3 separate regions of the Homo sapiens genome follow, and regions 1 and 3 are each linked to region 2. The links are contacts of gene promoters, found by promoter capture Hi-C in blood cells and fetal thymus (Javierre and others, 2016). All regions are on one chromosome and are shown on one strand. The core of a region is centred on a gene start or on the middle of the fragment in contact, and the rest is flanking DNA. Distances in the headings are between cores, read along the strand shown. Region 1 overlaps FBXW11 (F-box and WD repeat domain containing 11). Region 2 holds the start of UBTD2 (ubiquitin domain containing 2). Region 3 overlaps FBXW11 (F-box and WD repeat domain containing 11).

The links. Contacts are between HindIII fragments. The CHiCAGO score rates a contact against its expected background, and 5 or more counts as called.
Region 1: a fragment that was not itself captured here is called in contact with the fragment with the promoter of UBTD2 in region 2 in 1 of 17 cell types (total CD8 T cells); the score reaches 5.8 in total CD8 T cells.
Region 3: a contact is called between a fragment that was not itself captured here and the fragment with the promoter of UBTD2 in region 2, in 2 of 17 cell types (non-activated CD4 T cells and total CD8 T cells). The highest score is 6.4, in non-activated CD4 T cells.

Annotation. Positions count from the first base shown.
Region 1 is chr5:171,953,155-171,957,811 of GRCh38, forward strand. FBXW11 (F-box and WD repeat domain containing 11) reads right to left here. Exons shown (of 14, transcript NM_001378974.1): 2 at 4,443-4,544. Among named protein-coding and RNA genes, the nearest start is that of FBXW11, 51 kb to the right of the region's middle. The HindIII fragment of the contact is 6,782 bases long and covers 1-4,657 here.
Region 2 is chr5:172,281,672-172,286,204 of GRCh38, forward strand. UBTD2 (ubiquitin domain containing 2) reads right to left here and starts at 2,093. Exons shown (of 3, transcript NM_152277.3): 1 at 1,925-2,093. The coding sequence starts at 1,994. LOC100288254 (a long non-coding RNA gene) reads left to right here and starts at 3,926. Exons shown (of 2, transcript NR_130933.1): 1 at 3,926-4,084. RefSeq lists a silencer at 1,686-2,595 and enhancers at 2,170-2,770, 2,771-3,370. The HindIII fragment of the contact is 4,236 bases long and covers 1-3,351 here.
Region 3 is chr5:171,884,537-171,888,871 of GRCh38, forward strand. All of the region lies in intron 7 of FBXW11 (F-box and WD repeat domain containing 11), which reads right to left. Among named protein-coding and RNA genes, the nearest start is that of SMIM23, 100 kb to the left of the region's middle. The HindIII fragment of the contact is 1,578 bases long and covers 1,308-2,885 here.

The DNA of each region.
Region 1 (4,657 bases), core at 777-3,276, 330 kb before region 2:
AGAGACAAAATACAAAAATAAAATGTTTGTAGGGCCTTGCTATGTTGCGAAGGCTGGTCTCAAACTCCTGCCCTCAAGCAATCCTCCCACCTGGGCCTCACAAAGCACTGGAATTATAGGGGTAAGCGACCATGCTCAGCCAAAAATGTAGGTTTTAGTGTCTATAAAATACTACAGATTCTACCACTGAGCAACCCAAAACGTTCACATTATCAGACCCAGAGTGCTATAGGATAATTAAGATAATCAACAAGAAATGACAAATCCCTAATGCTTATTAGAAAACAGACAAGAGGCAATGAATTCAAACAGCCATGTCTGACCTTAGACAGACCGACCCTGAACAAAAACAGCCTTATCATATGCATGGTCTTTTAGCTAATCCTTACCTAGCCCTGGAATCTAAGACTGAAATTCCTTCTTACATGGAGAACCAGGAGCAAGTAAATTTAAAAAATGGATTTCATACCCCCCAAGAGTAAGAATCAGTAAGAGGTGGCAATTATCTTTCTCTACCTCATAAAAACCCTTTATGATTTTTAAAGATGAGGAAACAGGGGTTCGGGAAAATAAAGTAACTTGCCCAGTATCACAAAGTCATTAAGTAGTAGGAACAGGACTAGAATAGAGGTTTGTCTGCACCAAAGCCAGGGTTCTTTCTACCAAGCTATCTCCCTCCTCTAAAAAATATTCTCTTATATCAAAAGCTATGATAAGTTCTGTGGCATTCTCAGACCACTGTGGCTCACTACACCTATTAAAAGTAAAAAAAGAAACAAGAAAGGCAGCTGTCAAGAAGTTGTGCTACTTACTGCCCAGCACTATATGCACTAGAGCTTGGAAGGAGGCACTCAAACTCAATTCACGTGATCCTCACTGTCATTCCAAGCAATCAGTCCTACCCCAGCAAAAGGCTTATCACTAACACTCTCCCCCAGCTGAGGCTGCAAATGACATTCCCAAGACAACTTGCCAGTCTATTACATCATGCTGCTGTGTTGGCTTTAAATTTTTAACTCCAAAAATTAAGGGGAATTTGTTTCAACCTAAAAATGGCAGTTGCAAGTTAAAATGGCAGTTGTCACTACAGACTGGTGACTAGAGCACTGGCTTTGCAGTCATCCAGATTATGTTCCTAACCCAGTTCTGCCACTTAAATAAATGTGTAACCTTAGGCAGGTCAATTCACCTCTATAATTTCATATACAAAAATGGCAAGGTAGATAACTTTTCCATAAAAGATCAAATGAGATAATCCAATTCCTAGAGTCCAACACATAGAAAGAACGTGGAAAATAAATGATACATACTATTATTAACATTGGTATGATTCTCATGCCACAGGAATCTGGGCAAATCAATAATCCACATGGTCTGAATTCCTGATTATTTGCTATAACAATCAACTGGTTGAATCAGGACATCTGAGGCAAATGAAACACTGACTCAGTTCAGCTTGGTTGAGAGATAACCAATAGAGGCCCTGGCACATACCAATTGCTCAGTAAATATTTATGGAATTAAGTTTGCAGAAAGTCCACTCAGGAACCTCACTAGCTGTAAGATTCAGGAGGGCTCATTTTGGCAAAAAGAATGGCAACTTTTTTTTTCTACAGAATTTGGCAGGTTTTTCTTTTCTTATTTTCAAATAATATTAATAACTAAACAAACCATATACCAGGTGTCAATAGTGAGGTTTCTACAAATAAAACCAACATGGAAAACTACAAAAGCAGCATTCCAGAGTAGAGGAAAGAAAACCAGTTTGGGAATCAGGCAAGTGTGTGATTCATATGCCAGTAACTTTACAGTTATGTAAACATTATCTTGGGCCAAATAGTCACGTCAGACTCAGTTTCCATATCAGAAAATTGGAGATAAGAACACCTACTTCACAGGGTTGTCATAAAGCTAATATATGTGAAGCACCATGTAACAGTTGGTAATGAGTGATTTTTAAGTCTCTGATACCTGTTTTCCCTTCTAGACGATGGTAGAAACTTCCGGAATGGGTAAATTATGCCTAAGGGCAACTACTATCTTCCCTCCGGCTTTTTCGAAAGGTAAACTAAAATTCAGCCATATAGACAGGTCAATGGGCTCAAGTTGCAATTATCAGTGGGTCCACTCTGACAATTTTAAGGGGGACTCTTTCATGGAACTTCAGAGACCAGGAAAGAACCAGGCTCTGTTCTCTCCAGGTAGCCTAACTATTCCTTCCCTTCTCAGGCCTGCTCTAATATGAGGTTGCTAAAAGGTGTGCAAAGGAAGAGTCATCTTTGCAATAAACCAAAGATGCAGCATATAAGCAACAGGCCTTCTTTGAGAGCCCAAACCCAAATTAAGGCACGAAATTTTAGCACTGTTTGGAGACTGGAGGTAAAGGGGAGAAATGTTGGCATTAAAATAATACTTAAATGAGTACAGAGGAAGGAAGTCTTCCAGGCTCATTAATATTAATACATGTTTACTTTCCATTCACATGTGGGACAAAACAGAGTAATGATTTGCTAATGCCAATGAGCTGAGTACTTAGTTCATTTTACTATGCTGCATACCCTCAATTATATACTAGCAAAAATTAAACCTAAGTAAACAGAATACTCTACACGTCTCTAAAGACAATATTGCTCCACTCACTGAAATAAGACCCAATCAAGGCAAAAAAAAAAAAATCTTTTTTTCCTTCTTAAGTGAATTTCACTAAGAAAGATGAGTCAAGGAACTTTTAACAAATTTGGATTTCCATTTTCAACAAGGTAGGAACCCGTGTACCTCCTCCCACTCACCCCACCTCCAGAGAACTCACAATACTGTTACTAAAATATATTGAATGATGCCTTCCATTGGCCAATTACTTTTAACTGAATGCAATAAAAAGAATCCGCACTTCAAGACCTCACTAACAACTACAATTTTTCCCCCTCTTAAATTTCCAGTTCTGGAAAAAACTCGGTCAGCCCACTAAAAAGCAACTGTAACATTCCTTTTAATCCAGAAAAATAGAGACAAAAATACACCTATTATAATACACCTATTATACACCTATTATAATAACGCAAATATCCATTATACAGCATCAAGGAGAGCACATGCAATAATGGCTGCCATTCCAAGAACATTTTTGTTAAAAGTTACATCGCATGCACAGAAGCTGCTTTTCCAAAAGTAAACATATATTCATTACACTGAGCCTCACTGAAGCATCCTGTTCTTGTAAGGTGAGACTTGTAACCCACCTTTATATACAGAATCTAAAGACAACTGGGCCTTATATTGAACTCGCTCTCCAGTTAACTGTGTTAGTGAGGTTCCAGTACAGTTCCCCAAAGAAAGCAATTTGAATCAATAACCACACCAGTGCTACTCTGAATGTTTGCCAATAAGTAAATAAAATGCCTGACTCCAATATGAAGAACATTTTCCTCCTTCCTGGCTCCCCAGCTCCATTTAAAAATTGTAAACATGAATAGAAAGATAAACTTGAGAACAGCAAAGTCACCCATGCCATCAATAATATCCCTCTAACTCAGTGCCTAATTTTGCAGTTTTCCTCAAACAGGACAGTCTCAACCAGATGCCAGGAATTTAATATGGCTTTTCAAAGATATATCAAACTGTCTGGAATATGCAGTGATGAAAACTGAATATTGCTACTGAAACCATATTTAATTAAACACATGCTTGCTCAGAGCTTCAGAAATAAAGCTACAATGTTTTCTTCCTTGGCTCTCTTAGAAGCCACCCCAACAAGAGAGGGTCACCAGCTGCACTCCTGCTAACAGTTCTATCCTGAGCAACCCTTTCCCATCCACCCCCAAAAAGTTTTACTTTTATCTGTGGAATTCTCTGCCGGCCTCGGCCTGGAAAACTGGGTGGACCCTGAGGACAGGTGTCAGATCTGGCCTTTGGGAGGTGGCCCAAACTGACAAATTATTGGCAGCATAAAGCTATGATCTTTATAAACTTCAGTTTGAGGCTTTATGCCAGTAGTGATTCCCTCCCCGCTCCTTTTTTGAAGAGGGGAGAGAAAGCAAGCCAAAAGGATGAGTTTCAAAATAGAAAAAAATCACCACTTTAATTATGAAACCCTCCCAACTCAACAAAGAACTGTTAAAGGTAGCCAAATGGAAAATGTCAGGAGTTTTTTTTGGCACATGCGCAACTATTAAACATGAGAATTACAACCTCAAGGTGAGGGGAAAAGAGTAAAAAGCAGGAGCAGAAAAGGGGAGGACAGGGCCCAGCCAAAGACCCGTTTGCTCAAAAGGGCCCCTCTTGGTACTAACTCCTCCATGTGGGGCACCCAGGCTGGAGGAAAGCAGAGGGTTACACAGAACATTTAGCAGACTTAACATTGGATTAAACACACTACTGCAAGTTTCAACAAATGTTCATGGCATACGTAAAAACACATTTACAACAAGAAAGAAGAGAGGCACCTGGAGACATCTGACACTGGGCATGCTCTGCAGGCAACTCAGTGCGCACATGCTCTCTACCAGGTTGGCGCAGCCTAGCCACAAAGACCTTGGCACAGAACACTGCAGGATGACAAAAAGGAAGGAAGAGAAGAAGCAGTTAGAGGCCGCAACAAATCACTCCTTCACACAGGCAACTTGAATGTTAGTTGGGGCAGGGGGTGCACCCTTGGCAG
Region 2 (4,533 bases), core at 843-3,342:
ATTTCACTAAACCACAATTAACTCTTAATTATCATGACAATAATGGAGAATAAAAGCGTCCATAATCAAATTCCAGAAATAATCCTTTTAGTACAAGAGCCTCTTCCCTGACCCCAGTTACATCAGGGCCCATGTCCTCTCTCCAAAAGAAAATAAAGACGTTTGGTGGTTAATGTTCCTTTTTCTAAACTTCATGTACAGCAGAGCTTACGGTCCAGAGAACTCAGTCCTCAAAGAAACTGATACTATAGCTATCTAACTGGATACCACCGGTAATAAATTACCCAAAGCTAAGATTTCACGCTTTTTAAAGCCCATATTAATAATGCCTGTCTGGTCATAAGTCACACTACCAAAAGGCTTAAATAAATTAATCCACATACATTACGGAGAAGAGCAAAATGCTTATGACAATATTAAAATGAGTGTGAAAAAAATTTAATTAAAACTAAACACTAGCGATAACAAATACTAATATATTTCAGAATCATTAATGATCAACACAATTAGAGGAAGATTCATTTTGATCCTTCAATTTCACCTTAACCCAAGGCTGTTTTAAATCGTGCCCTTTTTATCTTCCTGCTTTGTTGTCACTGAGGATCTCAATATGCCAGTAATAATGCTACGACATAAAATACACTATAAAGTAGCATTTTCATGGACTTTTTCAAGACAACTTCCACTGAGTTCTCAAGTTATTTACCCAGGATTTAGTCATACAGGATACCCACAGATTTTAATAAAGTGGCATGGCTAACCATCATGGAATTCAGGAAATCCATTAGCCAAAAAACTTAGGTGTACATGGTTTGTGAAGAGAGCTTAAGTGACAGGGCAAGCAACTGGTCTAAATGTTAGTATGCTACGAAAAAGTTGTAAACCCTCCCATACCCAAACAATTTAAAAATTTACAGACATGCACATTTTAAGGCAGCTAACATTAGGTCACAAATCAAACCAACGCTGTCATCTTTGCCTAAAGGCTGTTTATCACTAAAATATTCTACAGAATGGACGTAACCAAAGGTCACTTAAATAAAGATAGAACTAATTTTATTATTATACTGCCATACTACAACTACTACTGATTGAATTAAAATACCTATCCTCAGCACGCTTTTACTATAAAGTAGGAGTGCGTTCCCGTGTTAGAAAACTTTTAAAGTACTGATCTTACTGGGTGGGGTAAGTCAGGGTCCAACTGCACTTGTACTTTTATCCTACATATTTTCCTTCTACGTAAGACAGATGGGAATGTGATTAGCCCACCCCGACAGCACACCGGCCTAACACCCCCAAGCTCTAGCTAGGAGCCACGTTTTACCCGGGAAGACCGTTTCCCCACCCCTCCTTAATACAATGCCTGCGGCCACTGGAGACTCCTCCAGCCGAGCTCCAGAAACTCGCAGGTTTAAATGGCCAATCTGGAACCAACCGGGGCAGCTGTCATCTGAAACTCAGGAAAGCTGAGACCAGCCAACTCCACAGAACAAGGAAGGGTGCGGAAAGATGTGGCGGGGCCCGTCGGAGGGAACGCATCAAGCTCCCTCCCCCCGCCATCAATTCGCTTTTCTGCAACCCCGGCGCCGCCATCCTGATCCTCAATAATTAAACGGCCTGGAGAGGGAGTGAGGTGGCCAGAAGGGCAGCTTCGGGTCCGACTTCCCCGAGCCGAGCGGGGCGGTCGGCGAGGCCAAGGGCTACGTCCCCGGCGCTCAGAGGACTTTTCTTCAGGGCTGGGGCGGGAAGGGGCGACCCCCGCGGCTGGCAGGACAGCCGGAAGCGGAGCGCGGGGAATGACGTGGAAGAGGGGATGACAAAGGGGCGCGGGGGCCCGGCGCGGCCCGCGGGGGTCGGGACAGGTGGCCGGGCCTGGCCGGGAACAATGGGGGGCCGAGGCTGCCCCCTGGCGCTCACCTACCTCCGGTGCCCTCCGAGTTCTCGTTGAGGCTGCCCGAGGAGTCGTGCTGGGCGCCCACACACCCGCCCATGGGGGCCCCCGGCGCCTCGTCCGCCACCTCCGGACGCTCGTCCGGGCCCGCCGCCGCCGCCGCTGCAGCCTCCTCCGGCGCCACCGCCGAGCTCCGGACAGGCGCGCCGCTCCGCTCGCCCGCCGCGGCCCAGCCTCCGCCCCCCTCGCCGCTCCACCCACCGCCTTGGCTCGGCCCCTTCCTCCGCGCCCACTTCTACCTCAACCCCCGGGCCGCCCGCCCGGCAGGCCTGGCCCGCGCGCCGCCCTCGCCTTCGGCTCAGCCCCGCCAGGCCAGGGCTGGCCCATCCCGGGCGGGCCGCAGCGCCCGCCTCGCCCCCTCACAGCCCCGCACACCCGAGTCCAGGCGAGCCCCGCGCCGGCGCCTCGCGTCCGCCAGGACCCATCGGCCCCCGGCCCGCGGCGCCGCCCTCCGCACCCACGGCCTGGGCTCGGCCCGGCCCGCCCGGAATCGCCGGAGAAGGGCGGGGCCACCGGAGGCCGCGCTCTGATTGGCTGCGGGCGGGGCTGCGAGCGGAGCGGGGCGAGGGTGAGGCGGGGGAGGGGACGCAGGGGGCTAGGTGGGGGGAGGACTGCAGGCGGGGGGAGGACTGGAGGCGAGGGGAGGAGGAGAGAGGGAGGACGGGAAGAAGAAAGGAGAGGGAAGAAGGGAGGGAAAGCAGGAAAAAGCCGAACAAAAGTGAGAAAAGAGGAGTGGGAAGGGGCGAAATCGAGTTCCTGGCTCCTCGGCCGTCGGCTCCTTCTTGCTGGTGGAAGCGGGTCGCACGGGGGAACCGAGAAGTAGTCGTGGAAGACTCGCAGGCGGGGACGGGGCGGTTTCCCAAATAACGGGGGCTCGGGGGAGAGTGTCCTGGCCGAACGTTGAGGTCCCAGCGCCCTTTGAATTTGTATGGCGCTCCGTGGGTTGGTACCCCGAATCTGGGCTTCCTCTTGCCTGCCCACCCCCGTCTTCCCTAAAATCATGGGGCCCCATTATTAGGGGTGGAGGCAGTGGTTGTGGCAAACCAAACTGAGATTAGAGGCGAGGCGTCCTGATGGAACGCCTGGAAAGAAGAGATAAACGCTGACCTTAGTTCAGGGGGCGTGGGTTTCTTTCATTTTCACGGGATTAATGATTCAAACAATACTACTTATCAAGATCCTGCCTTTGGGTATCTTAAATCGTCCTTAGGCCAAAGTGAAGTGTAAATGAGTGAAACACCCTGCCTTTTCGAATCTAGAATTTGGGACATTGACCACGCCCAACATTCTTGGCGGTTACTTTTCCAATCTCAGCCAAATTGTTAATGGTCCCTTTAGAATTGTGCTTCGTGCTATGATGCCTTAAAATTGTTATCATCCTGCTTGGGACTTTCTAAAGCTTATTTCTGCCTAAGAAGCTGTTTTAACTATCTGCTCCATTTTTATATCAGACTTTCTTTTTTTAACATCCTGGGTCAGCTTTTGCTTAGCACGAAAAAAAATTTTTTAAGTTGAAATACCTAAGAAAGAGATGCTCTGCAGCTTGGGATTTGCATTTAAATATATTCTCATACATTGCTGGTGGGAGTGTAAATTGGTTCAATCTTTTTTGCAAAGCAATTTGGCAATGCAGATCAAGAGCCTTAAAAATGTTCATATCCTTTGACTCGGGATTATTCCACATCTGGAAATCTAGCTCACAGAAATAGATCAAGCTATTATACAAAGATTTAGATCTCTGTATTCATTTGATAAAAAGACAGTAGACAAGCAAAACCTACACTTAGGTTAAAACACAGAAATGTCGTGAGATATAGAAATCTGCTATATTAAACTCATCCTGAAGAATTAGTATTGTCCTCAGTTGTGGTCCTGAACATTCCAAAAAGAGCTTATGCCATCGATGTTATTATGAGTTTTCAGAGGTTGCTCTGACATCAGGGGCTGTGTCACAAAGCCTTCTGTCTGATCATTTTCAACTAACTATACACGTTGGCAGACACATCACTTCATCACTTCCCTGAAGAAGAGAAGCTGCATGCCGAATATTTGCAAAGAGATTGCTTTGTCCTGAATTTCACTCTAGAAATTGCAGAAACCAAGACTTCCACGATGTCTATTAAACAGATGGTAGGCACCCAAATGATGAGGGCTCTCCGATGAGCACTGAGGAGTTGGCACTAGGAAGAGAGAGCAATCTCGGGGAGAGATTCTCAGCAATAGATGTTCTCCACCCTGCCTTTATCTTAGAGACACATTTCCCAGGAGGCAGAGTAGTGTCGCAGTCAGGGCCCCAGCTTGGCGATTAACTTCCTGGATTGGAATCTGGCTTTCATCGTGTACTAGCTATATGGTCTGAAGTTTCTGCCAGACATGGTGGCTCACGCCTGTGATCCCAGCACCTTGGGAGGCTGAGGTGGGAAGCTCACTTGAGCCCAGCTGTTTCAGACCAGCCTGAGCAACATAGGGAGACCCTGTCTCTACGAAAAAATTTTAAAAATTAGCGGGGCGTGGTGGTGAGCGCCTGTAGTCCCAGCTACTCAGGGGGCTGAGGTGGGAGAATTACCTGAATCCAGAGA
Region 3 (4,335 bases), core at 847-3,346, 400 kb before region 2:
TCCAAGTGAATTTTAGAATTGTTTTATCTAATTCTGTGAAGAATGAGAAAGGAATGGTTATGTCCTTTCCTGGTTTTGGTATTAGGTCGTATTTTGACAGGGACTGCATTGAATTTGTAGATTGCTTTTGGCAGTATGGTTATTTTCACAATATTGATTCTACCCATCCATGAGCATGGGATGTGTTTCCATTTGTTCGTGTCATCTATGATTTCTTTCAGCAGTGTTTTGTAGTTTTCCTTGTAGAGGTCTTTTGACTCCTTGATTAGGTATATTCCTAAGTATGTTATTTTTTTGCAGCTATTGTAAAAGAGGTTGAGTTCTTGATGTGATTCTCCTCCTGGTCACTGTTGGTTTACAGAAGAGCTACTGATTTGTGTACATTAATCAAAAGGAAATGCTATAAACAGGCCTTCAAGAAGGGAAGCGTTCTATAGTTCCATGACTAGGTCTGAGTCTTTTAGTGAGCCTATACCTCTAGACTTCACAAGTACTTCTCAGTTCTTCCTCACCCCTTTATGCGTGACCAAATGGATGAGGGGGCTGGAGTTGTGTATTTCCCTTCCCCAGGTCAGTCAGGTTCTATAAAATCTCAGCACTTTAGGCTCTGGCTAAGCAGTTTCTACTGAAGGTAGACCTTATCAAGAAGTACAGAATAACCTAGTATAGTTTTAAAAGTTTCTTTTCCCTTCCCGCTGCTGGAAACACAAGGAGATTTTTCTGGGATAATCACTGAGAGAATCTGGTAGAGCTCTTGCAGGTAAAACTCACAAAAGTGTGGTGGGGAGCCTGATGACTGGGTCCTCCTCAGTTTATATTTCTCAGACTTGTCCCACACTGAGCCTCCAGCAATTTTTCAATTACGGTTCAGGTTACCCTACCCAGGCACTGGTTCTCCCGGATGTTTCTGCTCCAGTGAGTTATGATTCTCTGTATTTGCCTGTCTCTCCAATTTGTGGGGCAGCAGCTTCTCCTGTGACCTCACTTCTCTTATGAATCTAAGTAGAATGGTTGATTTTTCAGTTTGTTCAGATTTTTACTTGTTGTCAGGACAAGTAGCAACTTCTTACGTACCAAACCCACTCCCTTCTTTTAATCTTTCCAGTGTTCCCAAGTTAACAATATTGTTGATATTTAATGGGAGATGAGAATGTTTTCAAAGATTGAACTATTTAAAATAGACTCTGTGCACCTATTTCTTGACATGTACAATACTATCATAATTTGTAGTGACTCTACAGTTTACTGCAAGTGAACAAGATTTTATAAATGAGGTAGACACTGAAATATAATATCTACAATAGCAAAGCTTGCTTTTAACTTCTGACCTAATGGAACCTGAGTTATTTTTTAAAGTGATTAGTGATCAAGGATTGGTGCAGAATAGAGCAAAAAAAAGGTTTCCAACCACTGGTCTAGATAATCTCTTCAAAGCGCACTTCTGCTCTACTATTCTATGTCTTATTAAGTCAAATGGATGTGCCACAATTAAGAGAATTCTTCAGAAAACACATCTAGTGTAAATGAATTCCAAGCCCACAGCCAGACTATGCTTTGACAAAGTTGTTATAAACCATTCTTAACTATTCCTTAAAGAAAAACTACCAGTATTATTGCAGCACTATTCACAATAGCAAAGACTTGGAACCAACCCAAATGTCCAACAATGATAGACTGGATTAAGAAAATGGAATACTATGCAGCCATAAAAAATGATGAGTTCATGTCCTTTGCAGGGACATGGATGAAGCTGGAAACCATCATTCTCAGCAAACTATCGCAAGGACAAAAAACCAAACACCGCATGTTCTCACTCATAGGTGGGAATTGAACAATGAGAACACCTGGACACAGGAAGGGGAACATCACACACTGGGGCCTGTTGTGGGGTTGGGGGAGGGGGGAGGGATAGCATTAGGAGATATACCTAATGTTAAACGAAGAGTTAATGGGTGCAGCACACCAACATGGCACATGTATACATATGTAACAAACCTGCACGTTGTGCACATGTACCCTAAAACTTAAAGTATAATAAAAAATAAATAAATAAATAAATAATAAAATAAAACGATATATTGATAGAAAAAAAGAAAAACCACCAGTATTAAATAGTAGCATATGTCACACTTTCTAGAGTATACTGGTAGCCACAGGTTAGGGCTATCAAGTATATATAAAAATAGAGTTCGGTGGGCCAGGAGCAGTGGCTTACACCTGTAATCTCAGCACTTTGGTAGGCCGAGGCAGGAGGATCATTTGAGGTCAAGAGTTTGAGACCAGCCTGGCCAGCATAGCGAAACCTCATCTCTACTAAAAACACAAAAAATTAGCCAGGCCTGGTGGCAGGCACCTGTAGTCCCAGCTACTCAGGAGGCTGAGGGAGGAGAATCGCTCACTTGAACCCAGGAGGTGGAGGTTGCAGTGAGCCGAAATCATGCCACTGCACTCCAGCCAGGGTGACAGAGCGAGACTCTGTCTCAAAAAGTAAGAAAAAAAAAATTAAAAATAGAGTTCCGTGGTCAAATAAGTTTTGGAACTTGGGAAACACTGGGTGTCTGTCTCTATTGTAGGCATTCTCAGAGCCTTTATATGCTACTGTATCCTGTGAATTTCTAAGCTGGAGACACAGCATGCAGTGTTATCTAAACTTCCTTGGAGGGCATTATTATTCTCTGCCTAGAATGCCTGCCAACATCCTCTAGATTCACATCCACAGAATATCTTTTGGCAAACACTGCCATACATATAGGAAACCAACAGAACAGTTTCTTATATTCTATAATTCAGAGTGCGTTTGACCTAGGTAGCTGAATTACTAAAATTCCACTATTTCACTTTTTAAAAAACAAACAAAAAATAAAAATTAAAAAAAAAAGCAGAAAAGCTTTATTTCACCCAAAATAGAACAATAACAGAAAACAGGGCCAAGATGGAGAAAGCCCACTACAATCTATCTCTCCAGTTGATTATAACTAAACACTCCTGATAAAAACTAGTTAAGAACTCTGAAAAGTAAGGGGAAAGAGGGGACAACAGGTAGATGTGGCAAGGGGTCAAAATGTGAAGAAACAATCTGCATGGGGGTGAATTTGCCATTATTTTTCTTTGTTGTTTTCTGTTTTCTTTCTTTTTTTTTTTATTTTTTATTGAGACAGAGTCTTGCTCTGAATTGCAGTGGTGTGATCCTGGCTCACTGCAACCTCTGCCTCCTGGGTTCAAGCAATTCTCATGCCTCAGCCTCCCGAGTATCTGGGATTACAGGTGCCCACCACCACGCCCAGCTAATTTTTTGTATTTTTAGTAGTGACAGGGTTTCACCATGTTGGCCAGGCTGGTCTTGAACTCCTGGCCTCAAGTGATCCACCCGCCTCAGCCTCCCAAAGTGCTGGGATTACAGGCATGAGCCACCACACCCGGCTTTTTCTCTTTTCTTCCTTCTGTGGCTTTTGCTCAAAGGCAGGCCCTTGACCAGGAAGCTATACAGTGAAATAGCAAAACATGCAGCTAAAATTCTGAAAGAAATCCCTCTAGGCAGAGGGGCTGGAAAAAAAGAGATCCCTGGGGGTTTCTTTTCTCTCTTCTCTCACAGGGCTCATGGCTCCAGTCATGACGACACACTGCAGAACAATGGAAAAGATAAAAAAATTCCAAGAGTGACCCAATTTTTCTGGCCAGAGGAAAAGGAAAAAAGTGTCCTTATGGGCTGAAGAGACTTAGGGAAATCCAAGAGGAAAGAACTGGAAATAAAAGAACCCAAACAACACATGACTTGGGCTTACCCTTGAGCTGTATATGCGCAGAACAGACTGAACCAGCACAGCAAAGGCTGTCTCAATGAGCTGATATTTAAAGCACTGCTGAAGCCTCAGATTAACCTCTAAGTAGTGAAAGCCCATGACAGACGCAAAGTGGCATATTGCAAAGGCTTTGAACAGTGGAAAAGAGATTAGAGCCATCCCCGCAACCCCTCTGATGATGTCAAGACAGAACTTGTGTTCTGAACCCAACTAAGTTGACTAACTGCTTAAAAACACACTTACCCAAAAACATTGTCCAGAGGATTATAACAGGACCCACAGTCTTTACAACATAATATCCACAATGCCCAAAATACTAGTTTAAATTACCTGGCATACAAAAATCAAGAAAGATGAACAATCTCAGGGGACTGGACAATCAACAGATGTCAAGCTGGAGGTTACCCAGATGCTGACATGGTTAAAGATGTTAAGCACCTACTCTATACTCCACAGGATAAAGATAAACGTGCTTGAGGTAAATAAAAAAGAGAGAATTCTCAGCAGAGAAATAGAAACTGTAAAATATCATACC